Linked DNA regions of Homo sapiens: region 2 is linked to region 1. The links are contacts of gene promoters, found by promoter capture Hi-C in blood cells and fetal thymus (Javierre and others, 2016). All regions are on one chromosome and are shown on one strand. The core of a region is centred on a gene start or on the middle of the fragment in contact, and the rest is flanking DNA. Distances in the headings are between cores, read along the strand shown.

Region 1 (4,416 bases), core at 1,078-3,577:
TTGGGTCTTGCAATATGCTTACAGTTAGGGGTTTCTACTGAAGGGTGTATGGGGAAAAACTCTCTTTCTAACTGCATTTTCCCTCTACTCTGACACCACCACAACAACAATCATCAACACAGAAGACTTCCCAACACAGAATGTGTGGAGTTTTTCCCTACACACCAAGCAGCAGACTCCAGCTGGGTGTCCTCCAATTCAGTTCTGATGCTACCTACCCAGAGATAGTGTCAGATCTGGCCTGTTGGGGGCTCAGTCCCCAACATTGCTCCCCACACCCCCCAGACACCAGTCGCAAGTCTGGGCCTCTGAAACTTCTGACAAACTGGCTTCAAGTTGAGGTTCCCAAAACTCCTTCTTGGAGTTCGATTAATTGGCTGAAAGGATTCACAGAACTCAAGGAAATAATTACTTACACTTACCACTTTATTATAAAGGGGATTACAAGGGATACAGATGAAGACACATGTAGGGCAAGGTATGGGGAAAGGGGTATGGAGCCTACCTGGTGCCCTGGGTTCAAGAACCTCCACATGTTCAGCTATCTGGAAGCTCACTGAACCCTGGTCCTCTTGGGTTTTTAAGAAGGCTTCATGACATCAGCATTCCTTCCCCTGAGGTATAAGGAAGGACCCTCTCTTGGGAGGGGCTTAAGGCCCACAATCAGAAAGGCAGGGAACATTAGAGTCCTGCCTTAGGCAAGGTGAAAGGAGGGCAGGAGAAGGTCCAGGGCTGCCCCTGAGACCTCACACACCTAACAGTGTAACGAAAGACTGGAACAAGGGCTATGGGAGTAATGAGCCAGGAACTGTGGCTGTAAACCAATATGTGTGTGTGTGTGTGTATGTGTGTGTGTGTGTAAGGAAGGGAGTGAAACTCAAGGAAGAAAAGCCTGATCACATCTGCTGGCTCTTGATTAAGTGGAAGGGAGTGAGTTCTGGAAACTTCTTCAATCACCTATCATTGCTCTTAGCCAATCATAGACCACACTTGTGAAATCTAAGTTGAGGAAAAACCCACAGAAGGGAAACATTCCTATATAAAATTTTTTCCCTGATGTTTAAACTACCTTAAAACTAAATTCCATAGTGTTTAAGCCACCTTAAAACTAAAAATTAAATGAATATTTATTGAGTCTCTACTATATGCCAAGTACTGTGCCACTTCCTAGAGACAAGCAGTCAACAAAAACAGATGCAGTTTCTATCTTCCTGGAGCTAATGCTCTTATGAGAAGACCTAGTGCGTGAGCAATTGATAAATAATAGCATCTCTCATAGATGCCTGCAGAAAAGCAACGTGGTGCTTGGAGAGCATAACAGAGAGGGGTTTAGCTGAGTCCCAGAGACCATGGAACAGTTCCTTTAAAAATGAAGAACTGAACTGAAATTTAAAGAATGGCTAAGAGTGAACTCAGCAATGGATCAGGGTCAGGATAATATAAGCAAAAGAACAAGCTTCACTAAAGCCAGTGAGATCAGAGAGAGCTAGACAAGTGTAGTGGGAAATAACTTGGATCAGTGACTCAAAACCTAAAAATGTATCAATGCTGGGGCTTCAGGCACTGTGATAGACAGAGGGAGAAATTTTAAGGACAGGTGACGATTGTGTTGTCCTCAAATTGTGCTACATGTGAAGCCAACTACATGATATGCTCATGAGTCCACCCCACCCCGCAAGTCCTCCCTGGACTCAGCCTTTCAATCAGAATAATGAGATGATCACTGTAGCTCAGAGGAACGAAGTATAATTCAAGACCTACATGATAGAATAATAGAGTTTTGTAACTGAAGGGGTCCTCTGAGGTCAATTAACCACGCCCCTCATTTTACAGATAACCAAAGTGAGGCCCAAAAAGATTGAGCTGCTTGCCCAATGTCACACCCCTAGTTAGTCGTGCAACACAGACCAGATTTCTGCCTCTTAGTAACTATGTATTTCTTCCTCCTAAGGTCAGGTGCCACAATGTACTTCCCAGCACTCACCTATTTGGATACATCCATGCCAGCTGTGATAGGCATGTTTTCACACATTTGCCCCACCCATACCCCCTTATGGTCGACTTTTCCTCCTGGCTATAGCCCTTCTTGTCCTAAATTTATTTGGTACCATGTGAACTGTGCCCTACCTCATACCCGGGTACAGCTGATTGTGTCACAGTGGGAGCTCTGGAATTAACAGGTATTGTCTCTGCCATGCTTCATTCTATCACTCTTTCCATGTTTCTTTGGAATCTAAACTCTTCTTTCCCATGGACAATTCTTCATCCCCACTCCCAGTCCTGGCCTAGTCACTCAGACTATCCCACCAGAGTACTTTCTAGGACTTTTCTGCTGTAGCTATTGAGAAAGTTCTACAGTCACCAGAGTAGACCCACTTTCTCCTGAGAGATGGGGAATCAGACAAGGTAAGTGAAGCCTGTGGATTCAGCCAAAGCTGAAGCCAGCTGTACCTATTTTAGTAATGTGAGCCAATACATTCCTTTTTTAAAACTTAAGTGGTGTATTAATTCATTCTCACACCACCATAAAGAACTGCCTGAGACTGGGTAATTATAAAGAAAGGAGGTTTAATTGACTCACAGTTCCACATGGCTGGGAAGGTCTCAGGAAACTTAACAATCACACCAGAAGGCACCTCTTCACAGGGTGGCAGGAAATAGAAGCAATCAAGACAAGAACTACCAAACACTTATAAAACCATCAGCTCTCATGGGAACTCACTCACTATCATGAGAAAAGCATGGGGGGAACTACCCCATGATCCAATCACCTCCCACCAGGTTTCTCCCTCAACACCTGGGAATTACAATTCAAGATGAGATTTGGGTGGGGACAGAGAACCTAACCATATCAAATGGTTTTTATACTGGGTTTCTGTTGCCATAGCACCAAAAAATAACTGGAATACACAGTGAAAGAGCTGCAATAGATGAATTTTTTTTGAAAGATGAATTAGTTGACCTGCTACCAAGTAGAATTTTTCTCTCAAAAATTTATAGTGATATACTCAGTGGTCATCCTTTAGTCAAACAATGTGCAGGAAGTCTAGAAATATAAAGGTTATATGGAGTTGAGAAAGAAATTACTGCTGAAACAAGGCAACACCTGTCCAAGCTAAGGTAATGGGAAACCAAAACAGAGCCAAATTGCCTGGGTCTGAGACCCAACTCTGCCACACGCTAACTACATGATCCTGGGTAAGCTTCTCTACCTCCACATGCTTCATTGTACTCATCTGAGAAGGGTATAAAAATAGTACCTGCCTCAATGGGGTTGTTGTGAGGACTAAACACACAAATACATGTGAAGCATTAGAACAGAGCTTGTGCAGATTTAATAGTAAGTGTTAGCTATTATTATAGGTATTATGTGATTATTGTTATTAAGATTATGGTTAAGCAGAAAAGCCCAGTGGACAGAAAGGAGAGTGGGCCTGGCATAAAGAAGCTAACAGTCATATGGTCATTGGGCCACAGAGGGAGAGACAGGAGTTGTCACTTCTCCAGTTCCCATAGGACCAGCCATACTTCATAAGCTTTCTGTATCCTCAAAACTACCCATCGACCCACTTTTCTTTTTTTAACTTTGGCCCCTCTGACTGGCTTTCTGTTTCTTGCCATCACACAAGCCTAGACAAAAGCATGGCATTTGCACAGCACGATGAAGGACCAACCAGATGGCACTGCCCTGCTCCGCACCATCAACTGTGCCCCAGCTTTTCTCTAACATGTATTCTCTCCTTCAAAATCCATCTTAGTTCTGCAAAAACAGCTCAAAAGCAAATGCTTCCCAGCAAAGCCAACATCATCTCAGCCATGTGGAAGGCATGTTATGCCAGCCATAACACAGTGGTTGCCATGGCTTGTAAGAGGATGAGAGGGGATCCTCGAAGTTTCCACCTTCGAAGGGCAGGTAGATCATTTCCTCTCTAGGGATCAGGCATCCAGGATTGCCATGTGAATCCAAAGTCTTTCTAACACTCTCTTTGCTAAGTTCTATTCATAGAAAACCTTGGCCTGCCTCCAGGTCCATGTCACATTGTTTGTGACAATGAGGAATGAGGATGTACTCAGCTTTTTCAGAAAAACAAGCTCATGTTTTCAAGACATTAAGGGCAAAACTTTTCCCACAGCATAGAGTGAAGTCCTCTTCATCATACCCAAGGTGCATCATTCCAAAACTCACAAACAAAACGCCCCCTACAAAGAAATCCCAAAGCCACACACATTCCAACTTCCTGGTCAGTAAACAATGTGTCTGAGAAGATTTACCCCGATGCCGGGCCCAATTCCTCCCCAGGAAACGGACTCTTTCTCGTACCTTTTCTCTCCTTACTTCAAAACACATAAAAGACTAAATGAGGGCAGCTGAGTCCACACTCAAGGACAAGAAAACAGCCTCTGGGAGAAGTGAAA
Region 2 (4,544 bases), core at 266-2,765, 140 kb after region 1:
CCAATGACTTTCTTCACAGAATTGGAAAAAACTACTTTAAAGTTCATATGGAACCAAACAAGAGCCCACATTGCCAAGACAATCCTAAGCCAAAAGAACAAAGCTGGAAGCATCATGCTACCTGACTTCAAACTATACTACAAGGCTACAGTAACCAAAACAGCATGGTACTGGTAATGGCTGCACAACTATGCAAATATACTAAAATCCATTGACTCATACACTCTAAATGGGTGACCTTTATGGTGTGTGAATTATGTCTCATAAAGTTGTTAGAAGTCAACATAAATGGAAGAGCAACCATTCACATAAAAATAAACAAAATTGTCAATGTTTTAAGAATTTTTCAGTAGGTGTAGTTAATTACAATTTGACTTTTTTAAGTCTGCACTAAAATTACTCACCAAAACCAATAGCAGGGTCCTCACTGCTGTTACTGAAAATGATTAACCTTTGATACACTTGTAATATCTGAGAAAAAGAAATGCAGGGGTCTCAGCAGGGCTCCCTTCTAAGGTCACTTGATTTCTAAAGAAGTAACCACTAGGTTTGAAGTCATCAGGATGTTAACTATGGGGATGGTTGGTTCAGTACCCAACATCCTGACAGCACATCTGACCATGTATATTGTATCGGAGACCACATCCTCAGCTCAGAAAAAGAGCTGAACTCATTTCAAATAGAAAGCACACTGCATACTGTTCCTCCAGGGACTGAGGTTGACTCTTCTTAGAGTGAGACATTCCCCAACATTGGAACAAAAATGACTCCCACTTCTTTTCTCACCTAAACCTGTTCAGAAGAAAGTAAGGAAGAAAGGCAGGAAGCAGGGGTCGGGGGGGGGCGGGGAGGGAGGGAAACTCGGAGATACTTTCAGTATCTAAAGTTGTGAAACTAGACAATCAGGAACGCACAATCAGAGGGCTGAAAAGGGCCAAGAGCCCCTACCCTCCTCCAGCCCATGTTCCCACACCTGCCACAGACCAGGCAGGAGCACAATAAACACTCACCACAAAGTGGGGAAGGAAAATCCAGGCAGGAGCCTCTATGTAAATAAATCTCCCTCCTGTCCTCAGCTTGCACTTGGCCTGCTAATTCTTATATAACCCAAGGAGACAGCTAGAAAGAATTTTGATTGGTGACCAATTTTGAGGACTTTTATTAAAATTCTAATTTAAGTCTTCGAGAGTTTCCAGTCATGGATACTACAGATAATATTGCAGATGATGAAAGCGTCTTCAAAATCATAGCTGAGACACTTTACAGTCTTCCCTGGTGTACTCTGATGGCAACAAGGTCCCTTGCCCCTCTCCTACCCTGTAGAATTCCAGCGCCCCCCTCAGCAGTCCTAGCAAAGGAAAGCCTGCCTGCTGGCAGTGAGCCATCATCCACCATTCTCACTTATTTGGATTTGGTTTCCTAATGCTAAACTTTGAAACTTGAAAAAAAAAATGAAAGGAAACCACATCCTTTTTACTCTCAGTATATAGATAGAGGCAGTTAAGAACTGAAAACAGATTTTCAGGTTGATTGATGTGGGACAGCAGCCACAATGAGGAACTCCTATAGATTTCTGGCATCCTCTCTCTCAGTTGTCGTTTCTCTCCTGCTAATTCCTGAAGGTAAGACTGATTCTTCTCATTTCCATTATGACCATGAAGCAAAATGGAGCAGACTTTCAATGAACTTTTGGCAATATTACCTTCCTATACTGAAAGAAGATGTTTTCCCCCAAGCCTTATAATGTTTAGCCAGGCACAATGGCACATGCCTGTAGTCCCAGCTACTAGGAACGCTGAGGTGGAAGGATCACTTGAGCGCAGGAGTTTGAGTCCAGGCTGGGCGACATAGTGAGACCCTGTCTCTATTTTTTTTTTTTAAATAGCATTCTTTCTTGGATTTTAAATATGTCTGTATTTTAGAAAAAAAAATCTTTTCTTCTCATAATTATTTTGCAAAAGATAGCAGAACCACCAATGCTTATTGCTGCCAATTTGTAACTTGAAAATTGCCAAAAAGGACAATGTAAAAATGAGTTAACAAAACTCTCTTGTTCGTAAAACAAATAGTACCTTCCAGGAAAGGAATAGTGGCAACTTAGTCAGCTCAGCCTTTCCTGCTGCAGAAAATGCATAGATAAAGACAATTAAGACAAATCTGACCTAGACACCAAAAGTGAATCAGGAATTATTAGAATTTTTATACTTATTTCTCTGGTCTAGAGACTCTTTGGCAATAAATTAAGGCGTGAGGCCAGTTCCCTCATTAACCCTTTGGGTGTGCTATAGTATTTTTTATTAAGCTAATTTTTTGTCTACCAAATGGTAACCAATATTTCTGCTTTTGTGTGAGTTGAGCATGCATGGGTTAAAATGCTGTATAATTCATGGTATTACCACTGAAAGGGTGACAGCTCTTGGGGAGCTCTAGATTTCCCTTGAAGAACCTGCTAGGAAGTGAGGACTACTCTCAAGCTGTGGCAATATGGAGCCAGCCACGGTTTTTCCCAGGATTCATCAGCTTTTGGAGGCAGGGACTTATGTAATAACCTGCCTTGCCAGGAATTCCCAAAGAACTCTGGTTTATCATATTTAGGTGCATATCTGGTTTATGCACCTAAATATGAGAAGACTTTGGGAGGCTGAGGTGGGTGTTTCACAAGGTCAAGAGATGGAGACCATCTTGGCCAACATGGTGAAACCTTGTCTCCACTAAAAAAACAAAAATTAGCTGGGTATGGTGGCACGTGCCTGTAATCCCAGCTACGCAGGAGGCTGAGGCAGGAGAATCGCTTGAACCAGAGAGTTGGAGGCTGCAGTGAGCTAAGATCGTGCCACTGCACTCCAGCCTGGTGACAGAGCGAGACTCTGTCTCAAAAAAAAAACAAAAAAGAGAGAGAGAGAGAAGAAATATAAAAATAACAAGGCTGCAGGACATTTGGGACAAAGGTTGGCTATGTTATAAGCAGGGCATAGTATGACTATATTCAGGCATGTTAAATCCTCCATAACAGAAAAACACAGGGCAGATAAATCCAGCCATATCTTTTCTTCAAAGGAAAACAACAAAAGCAACCTGCTGTGCTCCTCTTTGTTTCCTGTGTTCAGAGAGGGCAGTGTGGGCCCATATAAGGAACAGACAGCAAAGCAAGGCACAGTTGAAATCTATCTGTACATGAATCACCCTAGGAAAATTGGGATTGGGTGAAGGTCTTTTGTTTCTATAAGCTCTTTACCCTTTTGTTTCTAGAGCCTAGAATTTCTTCCTCCCAGTTTCCTTTTTAAAAGCAGAGACCTCTGCTTTTTCAAATCACACTAGCCACATTTCATGTGGTCACTCTCCTCCTTGCTCTTACCCTCATCAAATCTTACGAAAGGCTTCTATAGCTGTCATTAATACTTGCCTGTGAATTTGGCAATGACTTAGTCCTAATTATGGAACAAGAGGCACTGTGCCCTATTCAAGAAACCATGAGTCTCAGCAAAACTATTTTGGGAGAATCCAAGAACATCTGGTGCAGGAGGTGGAGCACTCGGAGTGTATCACTAAGACATAAGGTTCTCTCTATCTGCATGTATGGTTTGCCTTGTGTTTAGTTCTCACTGTTCCTTAACAATGGGTCTCTACTTCAAGACTATCATCAAGGAAATGTCACTTAGGCAGAATTCTTGGCATATGGTATCTTCTCTCTTCTCTTCCCTATCTCATTGGAAAAGACCTTAGATTAAACCCCATGGTTTGGTCTAGAGATTGAAGGGGAGGTGCAATCGATGTTATTTTCTTAACTTATGAGTGAGAACAGTGCAGTTTAATAACCAAAAGTCTCATAATGACCAAAGGACTGAGGGGTAGGGTCACAGCTAAACGATGCTAATATCGGTTCATAAGCTATATTTTTGCAATGGCTTGGGGTTAAAAGGGAAGTTATGAGGCTTCTAAAAGTCTTATCTATTTCCCCCAAATTAATAGTTAGCCAAAAAGGGTGGGAGCACTTGAGGTTGTCACTACCACTGGCATTTCCTGCAGCAACTGTTGATGGTAAAGACCAAGGCAGAGCTTTCTGCCCTGGGGCCTGAGGTTGCTGGTTTGTGACATCCAGCCTAATGATCCTGGAACAGTCAATGGCCTCGCTTCTGTGGGTGGAAAAACAGGACCCTAGAGTCCAACAGGAATAGGATTTGCATCAGATGTCTGCGGGTCTACATAGAGTAAAAGCAGGGGAAATGCTCTCATCCAGACTTCCTCTCTGAGTGCAAAAAGCATGGCTGGTCTTAGAAACATGACTTTGTGTAGAGCTCTTTGGGGGTGAGCACCAATCTGATTTGTCTTTTTCCATTGAACAGATGTCTGTGAAAAAATTATTGGAGGAAATGAAGTAACTCCTCATTCAAGACCCTACATGGTCCTACTTAGTCTTGACAGAAAAACCATCTGTGCTGGGGCTTTGATTGCAAAAGACTGGGTGTTGACTGCAGCTCACTGTAACTTGTAAGTGCCTGGGTTTTTAAAAAAAAGTTTGTAAAGATACTCTAATTTGGGGAAAC

The links. Contacts are between HindIII fragments. The CHiCAGO score rates a contact against its expected background, and 5 or more counts as called.
Region 2: a contact is called between the fragment with the promoter of GZMA here and a fragment that was not itself captured in region 1, in 4 of 17 cell types (total CD8 T cells, total CD4 T cells, naive CD4 T cells and 1 more). The highest score is 7.2, in total CD8 T cells.

The regions. Positions count from the first base shown.
Region 1 is chr5:54,961,974-54,966,389 of GRCh38, forward strand. No RefSeq gene overlaps it. Among named protein-coding and RNA genes, the nearest start is that of ESM1, 21 kb to the right of the region's middle. RefSeq lists a silencer at 3,868-4,162. The HindIII fragment of the contact is 1,747 bases long and covers 1,455-3,201 here.
Region 2 is chr5:55,101,131-55,105,674 of GRCh38, forward strand. GZMA (granzyme A) reads left to right here and starts at 1,516. Exons shown (of 5, transcript NM_006144.4): 1 at 1,516-1,622; 2 at 4,344-4,488. The coding sequence starts at 1,553. The HindIII fragment of the contact is 5,521 bases long and covers 1-4,544 here.